Regions from separate parts of the Homo sapiens genome. Here region 1 is linked to region 2. The links are contacts of gene promoters, found by promoter capture Hi-C in blood cells and fetal thymus (Javierre and others, 2016). All regions are on one chromosome and are shown on one strand. The core of a region is centred on a gene start or on the middle of the fragment in contact, and the rest is flanking DNA. Distances in the headings are between cores, read along the strand shown.

Region 1 (5,307 bases), core at 2,765-5,264, 530 kb after region 2:
CTCAGCCTCCCGAGTAGCTGGGACTACAGGCACACCACCATGCCAGGCTAATTTTTGTATTTTTAGTAGAGACTGGCCAACATGGTGAAACCCCGTCTCTACTAAAAGTACAAAAATTAGCCAGGTACGGTGGCATGTGCCTGTAATCCCAACACTTTGGAAGGAGAATCACTGGAACCCGGGAGGCAGAGCCTGCAGTGAGCCGAAATTGTGCCACTGCACTCCAGCTTGGACAACAGCACAAGACTCTGTCTCAAAAAAACAAAAAACAAAAAAGAAAAAAACAACAAACAAAAAAAAAATCAACAAACTAGGAATAGAAGGGAACTTCCCCTGCCTAGGCATCTGTGAAAAACCCAGGGCTAACAGCACTCTCAATGATGAAAGACTTTTCCCTAAGCTTTCTCCTAAGCTTTTCCCCTAAAATGAGAAACAAGACAAAGATGTCTGCTTTTGCCAATCTATTCAACATTGTGCTGAAGTAACTAGCCAGAGCAACTGGGCAAGATAATGAAATAAAAAGCATCCAGATTGGAAAGGAAGAGATAAAATTATCTCTATTTGCAGATGATATGATGGTTTATATAGAAAAACCCTAAAGAATATAGACACAAACTTTTAGAACTAATAAATGGCCAGGCACGGTGGCTCACGCCTGTAATCCGAACACTGGGAGGCTGAGGCAGGCAGATCACGAGGTCAGGAGTTCAAGACCAGCCTGACCAACATGGTGAAACTCCATCTCTACTAAAAATACAAAAATTAGCTGGGCATGGTGGCACTCACAGGAGAACTGCTTGAGCCCGGGAGGTGGAGACTGCAGTGAGCCGAGATTGCGCCACTGTACTCCAGCCTGGGCAACAGAGTAAGACTGTCTCAAAAACAAAACAAACAAACAAACAAAAAGAACTAATAAATGGTTCAATGAAGTTGCAGAATACAAGATCAAAACCAAAATCAGTTGTATTTCTATGTACTAGCAATGAACAATCCAAAAATGAAATTAAGAAGACAATGTCACTTATAACAGCATCAAAAAGAATAAAATACTTGGGAACAAATTTAACCAAAGAAGTGCAAGACCTATATATTGAAAACTATTATAAACACTGTTAAAAGAAATTAAAGGGCCGGGCGCAGTGGCTCACGCCTGTAATCCCAGCACTTTGGGAGGCCGAGGCGGACAGATCACGAGGTCAGGAGTTTGAGACCAGCCTGGCCAATATGGTGAAACCCCGTCTCTACTAAAATTACAAAAATTAGCCTGGCGTGGTGGCAGGCGCCTGTAGTCGCAGCTACTTCAGAGGCTGAGGCAAAAGAACTGCTTGAACCTGGGAGGTGGAAGTTGCAGTGAGCCAAGATCACGCCACTGTTCTCCAGCCTGGGTGACAGAGCAAGATCTGTCAAGAAAGAAAAGAAAAGAAAGAACGAAGGAAGGAAGGAAGGAAAGAAAAGAAAAGGAGAAAAGAAAAGAAAAGAAAAGAAGTACTACAAAGCTACAGTAATAGAGACAATATGATACTGGCATAGGATAGACATATAGATCAATGAAACAAAACTGAGAATCCAGAAGTAAGTCCATACATGTATGGTCAATGATTTTTAACAAGGGTGCCAAGATCATTCAATGGGGAGACAGTCTTTTTTTTTTTTTTTTTTTTTTTGAGACGGAGTCTTGCTCTGTTGCCCAGGCTTGGGAGTGCAGCGGCCCGATCTCGGCTCACTGCAAGCTCCGCCTCCTGGTCTCAGACCATTCTCCTGCCTCAGCCTCCCGAGTAGCTGGGACTATAGGCGCCCACCACTACACCCGGCTAATTTTTTTTTTGTATTTTTAGTAGAGGGGTTTCACCGTGTTAGCCAGGATGGTCTCAGTCTCCTGACCTCGTGATCCGCCTGCCTCAGCCTCCCAAAGTGCTGGGATTACAGGCGTGAGCCACTGCACCCGGCAGGTCTTTTCAACAAATGGTGCTGGAACAACTAACTGACTATCCATATGCAAAAGCATGGATTTGGACTTCTACTTCACATCACATACAAAAATTAACTCAAAATGGACCACAGACCTAAAAATGTAAGAGCTGGCACTATAAACTTTCATGCTTCAAAGAACACCAATGAAGGACATGAAAAGACAATCCAATGGGAGAAAATATTTTCAAATCATGTATCTGATGTTTCTAGTACCTAGAATATTAAAAAGGACCCTTACAACTCAACAATAAAAAGACAAATAGAGCCAGGCACAGTGGCTCATGCCTGTAATCCTAGCACTTTCGGAGGCCGAGGCGGGAGGATCACCTGAGGTTAGGAGTTCGAGACCGGCCTGGCCAACATGGCGAAACCCCATCTCTTTAATAAAAATACAAAAATTAGCCGGGCATGGTGGCGCATGCCTGTAATCCCAGCTACTTGGGAGGCTGGGGCAAGAGAATTGCTGGAACCCGGGAGGCGGAAGCTGCAGTGAGCCGAGATCACACCAGTATAAAAAGACAAATAGAGGCCGGGCGCGGTGGCTCACGCCTGTAATCCCAGCACTTTGGGAGGCCGAGGCGGGTGGATCATGAGGTCAGGAGATCGAGACCATCCTGGCTAACAAGGTGAAACCCCGTCTCTACTAAAAATACAAAAAAAATTAGCCGGGCGCGGTGGCGGGCGCCTGTAGTCCCAGCTACTCGGGAGGCTGAGGCAGGAGAATGGCGTGAACCCGGGAAGCGGAGCTTGCAGTGAGCCGAGATTGCGCCACTGCAGTCCGCAGTCCCGCCTGGGCGACAGAGCGAGACTCCGTCTCAAAAAAAAAAAAAAAAAAAAAAAAAGACAAATAGAGCTGGGTTCAGTGGCACACACCTGTAGTCCCAGCTACTTGAGAAGCTGAGGCGGGAGGATCACTGGAGCCCAGGAGTTCGAGGCTGATATAGTGCACCATGATCCCATCTGCACTCCAGCCTGGGAAACACCGCAAGACAAACCCACCCCACACACACACCCCACCCTCGTCTCAAAAAAAAAAAATTAAACCCCAAAAATATATTAAACAAAAGACATATCCCAATTTTAGAATGTGCAAAGAACTTGAAAAAACATTGCATCAAAAAAGACATACAAATGGCCAATTATCTCATGGAAATATGCTCAGCATCACTAATCATTAGAAAAATACCAATGAAAACCACAGGGTACCACTTCACACCCACTGGAATGGCTATAACTAAAAAAATGCACAATAACAAGTGTTGGTGAGGATGTGGAGAAATTGGAACCCTCACACATGGCTTGTAGGGATGTAAAATGGTGCAGTTTCTGTGGAAAACAGTTTGTCGGTTGCTCAAAATGTTAAACATACAGTTATCATAGAACCCATAAATTCCTCTGCCAGCATATACTCCTAAGTATATAACTAAAAGAAATGAAAACATGGTGTGGTCACTTTAGCCCAAAGACTCTCAGGTTTATTTTGTGGGCCCTTTGGACTGTAACTCCATAAGATCGGTACGGCGCAAGCCACTAGGACTGTTTTTTGTTTTGTTTTGTTTTTGCTTTTGTTTTGAGACAGTCTTGCTCTGTCGCTCAGGCTGGAGTGCAGTGGCGTGATCTCGGCTCACTGTAACCTCCGCCTCCCAGGCTCAAGCGATTCTCCTGCCTCAGCCTCCCCAGTAGCCGGGATTACAGGCGCGCCCCACCACGCCCGGCTAATTTTTGTATTTTTTAGTAGAGAAGGAGTTTCACCATGTTGGCCAGGCTGGTCTTGAACTCCTAACCTCATGATCCGCCCGCCTCAGCCTCCCAAAGTGCCGAACGGTTTTTGGGTTTTTTTTGGTTTTTTGGGGGGGGGGTTTTGCTGACTTTCTTGTTTTGTTTGTTGCTTGCCACGCTGCCATCAAGTGCTCACTGTCGCAAAAGAACCGTCCCCATGCAGTACTGTACTTTTCTTTTCCCTTCTGCCGTCAACCTCGGAGTAGCTTCGCTCCCAGAAGGCCTCAAAGCGCGACCAAAGAGCGTGACAGAGCGCTTTACGACAGTTGCTTTGAGGCAGTACCGGAGGAGAAAGATGGCGGCTACCTTACTAGCTGCTCGGGGAGCCGGGCCAGCACCGGCTTGGGGGCCGGAGGCGTTCACTCCAGACTGGGAAAGCCGAGAAGTTTCCACTGGGGTGAGGAAGGAATCGGGGTTCATAGGACGTGCACAAGGCCTGACGCGATGGGAAGATAAAGCCTGAGTGGGGTTGAGAGATCTGGCAGGGGTGGAGAGGAGGTGGAATGTGTTGTGCTCCAGGAATGGGGAGAGGTACCCCGAAGATGGTGGAGTGGTGCGGTAGCTTCGTAGTGGGAGGTGGAGGGTGGGCTGAAGTTTGAAATTCTGAAATCCTGCGAGGCTAGTGAGGATCTTGGGCTTAAGTACGGGATGAGTCTTTTGAGATTTGAGGGTTGGCATTCTGGTATTCTGCGGGGTGCTGAGGCCCCTATAAGATTTGAAAATGGTTCAGCGACGGACAGATTTTGTATTTTTGGAACTAGGTAGAGAGATCATTGAGGTTTGTGTCTGCTGGAGAATGTAGACTTACTCCTTTTTCCCTTTTCCCAGACCACTATCATGGCCGTGCAGTTTGACGGGGGCGTGGTTCTGGGGGCGGACTCCAGAACAACCACTGGGTGAGCTCAGGACAGATTTGTGAAAGGTCTTCCCATCTTCCTTTTCCTTTCCTGCCTGCCAGCCCACCCTGCCTGCCTCCACAGACCACTGTGGGAAGAGAGGTTTCTTCTCTCTCTGGAGATAAAGATTTGTCCCAACTTTTGTTACTTTCAGTTCCCCTCACTCGTTAGTGGAATCCTTACAAAAGTCTGTTCTCCAGCCCGCTTCAGTTTGGATGAGAATAAGCAATACTGGAGGCCAGGCACGGTGGCTCACGCCTGTAATCCCAGTACTTTGGGAGGCCGAGGCGGGTGGATCACCTGAGGTCAGGAGTTCGAGACCAGCCTGGCCAACATGGCGAAACCCCGTCTCTACTAAAAAATACAAAAATTAGCCGTGCGTGGCGGTGCGTGCCTGCAGTCCCAGCTACTTGGGAGGCTAGGGCTAGAGAATCGCTTGGACCCAGGAGGTGGATGTTGCAGTGAGCAGAGATCGCGTCACTGTACTCCAGCCTGGGCAACAGAGCGAGACTCCATCTCAAAGAAAAAGGAAAAAAAGGCAATACTGGACATCCTATCCCTGAGCCCTAAGAGAGTGGGTAGTGATGGGATGGAGGTGGAAGACAGGTGGGCTCCTTTCCTCACTATTCTGCCATCCTGCAGGTCCTACATCGCCAATCGA
Region 2 (5,127 bases), core at 2,555-5,054:
TATTAAGAAGAGTAGGAGAGACATGATCTGATTGATGTCTTAAAGGGAACACTAGAAACTGTGAAATTAGGCTGTGAGAGAGCAAAATCTAGGAGGAAAAGTTAAAAGCAAACTTTTAATTGGAACCTTTTGAAGTAGTTCACTTACAAACGAAGCTTAGGGCTGGGAGCGGTGGCTCACACCTGTAATCCCAGCACTTCAGGAGGCCCAGGCAGGTGAATGGCTTGAGCCCAGGAGTTCAAGACCAGCCTGGACAACATCACAAAACCCCAACTCTACAAAAAATACAAAAATTAGCCAATGTGGTGGCATGCACATCTGCACTCCCAGCTACTTGGGAGGCTGAAGTGAGGGAATCACTTGAGCCTGGGAGGTGGAGATTGCAATGAGCTGTGATCACGCCATTGTACTCCAGCCTGGGTGACGGAGTGAGATCCTGTCTCCAAAAAAAAAAAAAAAAAAAAAAAACCCACAAATGAAGCTTAGATTAAGCAGGATAGCCACAGAGATGTAGAGTTGGGGAATAAAACTAATTTTAGGACAGACTTTAGCTAAATATATATGGTCAAATGAATAGCCATGGATAGATGGAAGGAAAGAAGGTTGTTCTCTAAACAAGTCACATAAGAAGCTGTATCCTCAGTCTCTCACGATCCTATTTACTATTCCTAGGCACTATCTCCCACATTCTCACATGGCCAACCAACCATTATCAGGGAAGTTCCCATAGTGTGTTTACAGATCATTCAAGTTATATGACACAGATATCTGCTATTTATTTATATTTAAATAACTGTCTCCAAACAAGCATAGCAGGCTCTGAGAATCTGATTAAAGCACAAGCAGTAGTATTAATATCCCAAGAAACATTTTCTACCTAATCTTGCCTTCCTTTGCATAGCAAGCACCTTCAGATTAATAAGCTAAATGACCCAGAATGCCTCCTAGTTGAAGTCTGCAACATCGTTTCTAAAAAGCTTAAATCCCAACAAAAAGTTGGGACACAAAAGAGGTAAAAGAAAAACTGTGGCCGGCCGGGTGTGGTGGCTCACACCGGCAATCCCAGCACTTTGGGAGGCCGAGGCCGGCAGATCAGCTGAGGTTGGGAGTTCAAGACCAGCCTAGCCAACACAGTGAAACCCCATCTCTACAAAAATTAGCCGGGTATGATGGCGGGTGCCTGTAATCCCAGCTACTTGGGATGCTGAGGTGGAAGAATCGCTTGAACCCAGGAGGTGGAGGCTGTGGTGAGCCAAGATTGCGCTATTGCACTCCCGCCTGGGCAACAGAGCGAGACTCCCTCAAAAGGAAAGGGGAAGGGAAGGAAAGAAAGACTGTGAAGTCAGAACTTCATGACTGCTTACCTAGCTATCCCCCTGCTAATTTAACCCTGAAAGGATGTCTTCTTCGTGTGTTTATGGAGAGACACCCCACTGGCGAGATGTCTCTCAAGGCGCTTGCCGGATGATGAGTATGCTGACTCAGCCTGTATGAGCTCCTCAGGGCTGGAACCCGACTGCAAAGCACAGCAGGTGCTCAGTAAAGCTGCTGAATGAAAAACCAGCAGCCCTCCACAATCTCAACCTTGCTAATGTATTCCCAAAACACCGAACTTACCTTCCTAAGTGCAAAAGCGCCAGACTACCCCTTACCTCACAGAAGACCTTCCTGAACCTTTCTACCCGCCTCACTCCTGTGAGCAACAGCTGTCTGCTGTGTACAACATTCCGTGATTTACTCAAAAAGCAACTTCAGGGAATCCCTTGGGTTTTTGCTCCTTTTCTTACTCCTCTGCCTTCAGGCAATATTCACCTAAAGTTTCCCCCTCCAGGGATATGGTAGAAAAAGTAAAGACAAAAACTGGGTGCCTGCCGGGCGCGATGGCTCATACCTGCAACCCCAGCACTTAGAGAGGCCAAAGCGGATGGATTGCTTGAGCCCAAGAGTTGGGAGACCAGCCTGGGTGACATAGTGTGACCTAGTCTCTCTCTTTTTTAAGACAGGATCTTACTCTGTCGCCCAGGCTGGTGCAGTTCACTGCAACCTCCGCCTCCCGGATTCAAATGATCCTCCCACCTCCCTAGTATTACTGCGAGGACCACAGGCACCCGCCATCACTCCATTCACTCCAGGCTGGAGTGCAGTAGCACGATCTCAGCTCACTGTAACCTCCGTTTTCCGGGTTCAAGCGATTCTTGTGCCTCATCCTCCCGAGTACCTGGAATTACAGACACGTGCCACCACACCTGGCTAACTTTCGTATTTTTTGTAGATACGAGGTTTCGCCATGTTGCCCAGGCTGCTCTTGAACTCCTGGCCTCAAGCGATCCTCCCACCTCGGCCTCCCAAAGTGCTGAAATTACTAGCGCGAGCCACCACACGGGGCCAAGACCTTGTCTACACACACACACACCCCTTTTTAATTAGCCGGGTGTGGTGGCGAGCGCCCCTGGTCCCAGCTACTCAGGAGGCTGAGGCAGAAGGATCGCTTGAGCCCAGGAGACTGAAGCTACAGTGAGCCGTGACCGCGCCACTGTACTCCAGCCGGTGGGACAGAGCGAGACCCTATCTCAAAACACACACACACACCCCCCAAAACCAACTGGGTGTCAGTCACAGCTATCTCTGTAACTTTGCCTAAATTCCTTTATCAATAAAGGCAAATACACACGCCAGGCCTCCTTCACGAGGTTATCTGAAGTCTAATGCAAATGAGAAAAGCCGACCAACTGTCAGGTGCTGCCCAAATCTAAGATCCATCAAGTGATGGGTTCAGTCAAAGCTCAAAACCAACAGGAAAGGTCGTGGCCAAGCACACTGCAGTCACTCAATAAACAAAGGTCAAATAAGGAATACTGTTCTCCAATAATGGGGTGAAGAGGAGAACCAGGCTGCCCAGATCCAACAATGTCCCTGCACGATTCCTGACAGGTAACTCCCCGTCTCTGGGCCTTCTTTCCCCCTACGTGTACAATAAGGCTTTGACAATGAAGGCTTCTAATTACTGCTACATTAAGACAGGCAGACTCTGAGAGACCAGAGTGCCTTAAGCTGCAATGTCATGAAAAGTGCACGAGACCAGAGGGTAGGCACTGGACGGGGAGGCAAAGGCACAGAGGTCTGGTTTGAGCAGCCCTCTTGTGAGCAGTGTGACCTTGGCCAACTCCCTTCCCGCAAACCCCTTCCTCCCGTCTTCATCTGTACGCCTGGCCTGAAGGCTGGGGTTGCAGCAGAGCCGGAGCCGCCAGTGCGCCCGCCTGAAGCGTGGGCCAGCTCGCTGCTGCCTCGCCCCCACCCCACCCCACCTCACCCCAACCCAGCCCGAGGAGACCCACGCTCTTCCGCAAGCGAGGGATGGACCCCTTCCGGATGCAGAACGTGCCAGGACAGCAGTTTCGATTTCCTAAGGAGAAGGCTTACTTCCCCCGGCGTCCCGGCACCGCCGGCAATCAAGAGCCTCCCGTGCTGCCCTCGGGGCCCCGCGGCTGCACGCAGCACCGGCGCGGGACCTGCCAGCCCGGCTCCGCAGCCGGCCGCAGTCCCGCGGGGTCGGCATCGCGGGAGGGACGTTGTCATAGGAACCGCGCTCCGGACCCCGGCCCGAGAAGCTCCGGAGAGGCTAGACAGGAAGGCTCGCGAGACCCGCGGAGCCCCCATGCAACCACGCCCGGCCTTCCCCTCCCACGGCAGCTTCGCACGGCCAGCAGCGCCCCCACAGCTCCGTGTCTTCCCGCGCGGCTCCACAAAAAAACCCTACCTTCCGCCATGTCTGGCCCGGCACTGCCTGCAACCTCGCGAGAAGTGCGCGGCTCAACCGGGGCGGTGCGGAACGGAATCACCAAGTCTCGCGAGAATCGCGGGAGGCGCGGCAAAAGGCGGAGCCGAGGGTAGGAAAGTGGGTGAATGAAAGCGGAGGGGGTTGCTGGACTCTGGGGGAAGCGGAGAGCCGGGTTTCTTTTTACCGGGTATTTTTGAGGCTCGAGATTTATTAAGCACTGACTGAGCCCTGTCATATTCCACGTCCTTGGCAGGGCACCGAAAAGGATGACACAACGAATGCAGACTACTCTGGAGAAGCTTGGCAATGAGAGGGTCGAGAGAGGGGGTTTGTTGGTCCTTAGGTTTGTAAAGAAAGGAGAGGCTGGGAGAAAGGAGTCAGTGGAGAGGTCCCTGGGGAGGTAGGATGCTCTGCATGCGATGCAGAACTCAGGAAAACGGATTAAATTTAGACTAGAGGCAGGTCACCTGTTATTCCACTAAAACGGTAGGAAACAAGAACATGCGTGCAGATATATAGGGGGGAAGAAAATCAGGGAGATCGTTTGATGACATCGATTTTATGGGTGAAGTTATGAGACAAGGAAGGAGACCAAGAAGAGCAAAGAAACTTTGGAAGAGGACGCTGAAGTTGGAAGGCCTGGTTTCATGTGCCTCATGTATGTGTTGATGGATCACTTTTTTCTAGAACTCAGCCACCAGGCTGCAGTAGCAGATATTTTGAATTATAGCATTTATCCAGGGCTTGGGATTGCATTGCCCAAAATAAATTGAGGGTGCTATGAGACGACAGCCCAGGCCATCAAACGTGGGATACAGACTGGCTAGGGACTGATGGAGGAGCCACGAAACTGCAGGTCTCTGATAATTGAAGGCCAGTGCAGTGCAGGCAATGTTGTGAGAGCTTGGTGGTTAAAGTGGCAAACAGGTTCATAGTGAAGTAGCACTAGGAGATGAGAAAAGTCCAGGACAGGCCGGGCGTGGTGGCTCACGCCTGTAATCCCAGCACTTTGGGAGGCCGAGGAGGGTGAATCACCTGAAGTCTAGAGCTCAAGACCAGCCTGGCCAACATGGTGAAACCCCGTCTCTACTAAAAATACAGAAATTAGCCGGGCGTGGTGGTGCATGCCTGTAATCCCAGCTACTCGGGAGGCTGGGGCAGTAGAATCGCTTGAACCCGGGAGGCAGAGGTTGCAGTGAGCCAAGATTGTGCCACTGCACTCCAGCCTGGGCAACAGAGTGAGACTCTGTCTCAAAAAAAAAAAAAAAAAGTCCAGGACAGAGCCACGGAATAGAGTGGCTGAAGTGGAAGTGAGAAGGCAGGAAAATTAGATGTTGGGATTTAGAGGT

The links. Contacts are between HindIII fragments. The CHiCAGO score rates a contact against its expected background, and 5 or more counts as called.
Region 1: a contact is called between the fragment with the promoter of PSMB6 here and the fragment with the promoter of ANKFY1 in region 2, in 2 of 17 cell types (fetal thymus and erythroblasts). The highest score is 7.3, in fetal thymus.

Annotation. Positions count from the first base shown.
Region 1 is chr17:4,792,150-4,797,456 of GRCh38, forward strand. It overlaps PSMB6 (proteasome 20S subunit beta 6), which reads left to right and starts at 4,015. Exons shown (of 6, transcript NM_002798.3): 1 at 4,015-4,147; 2 at 4,579-4,646; 3 at 5,289-5,307. The coding sequence starts at 4,046. RefSeq lists enhancers at 3,774-4,372, 3,799-4,328. The HindIII fragment of the contact is 8,413 bases long and covers 411-5,307 here.
Region 2 is chr17:4,260,175-4,265,301 of GRCh38, forward strand. ANKFY1 (ankyrin repeat and FYVE domain containing 1) reads right to left here and starts at 3,805. Exons shown (of 25, transcript NM_001330063.2): 1 at 3,758-3,805. The coding sequence starts at 3,767. RefSeq lists a silencer at 3,102-3,251 and an enhancer at 3,902-3,991. The HindIII fragment of the contact is 3,100 bases long and covers 976-4,075 here.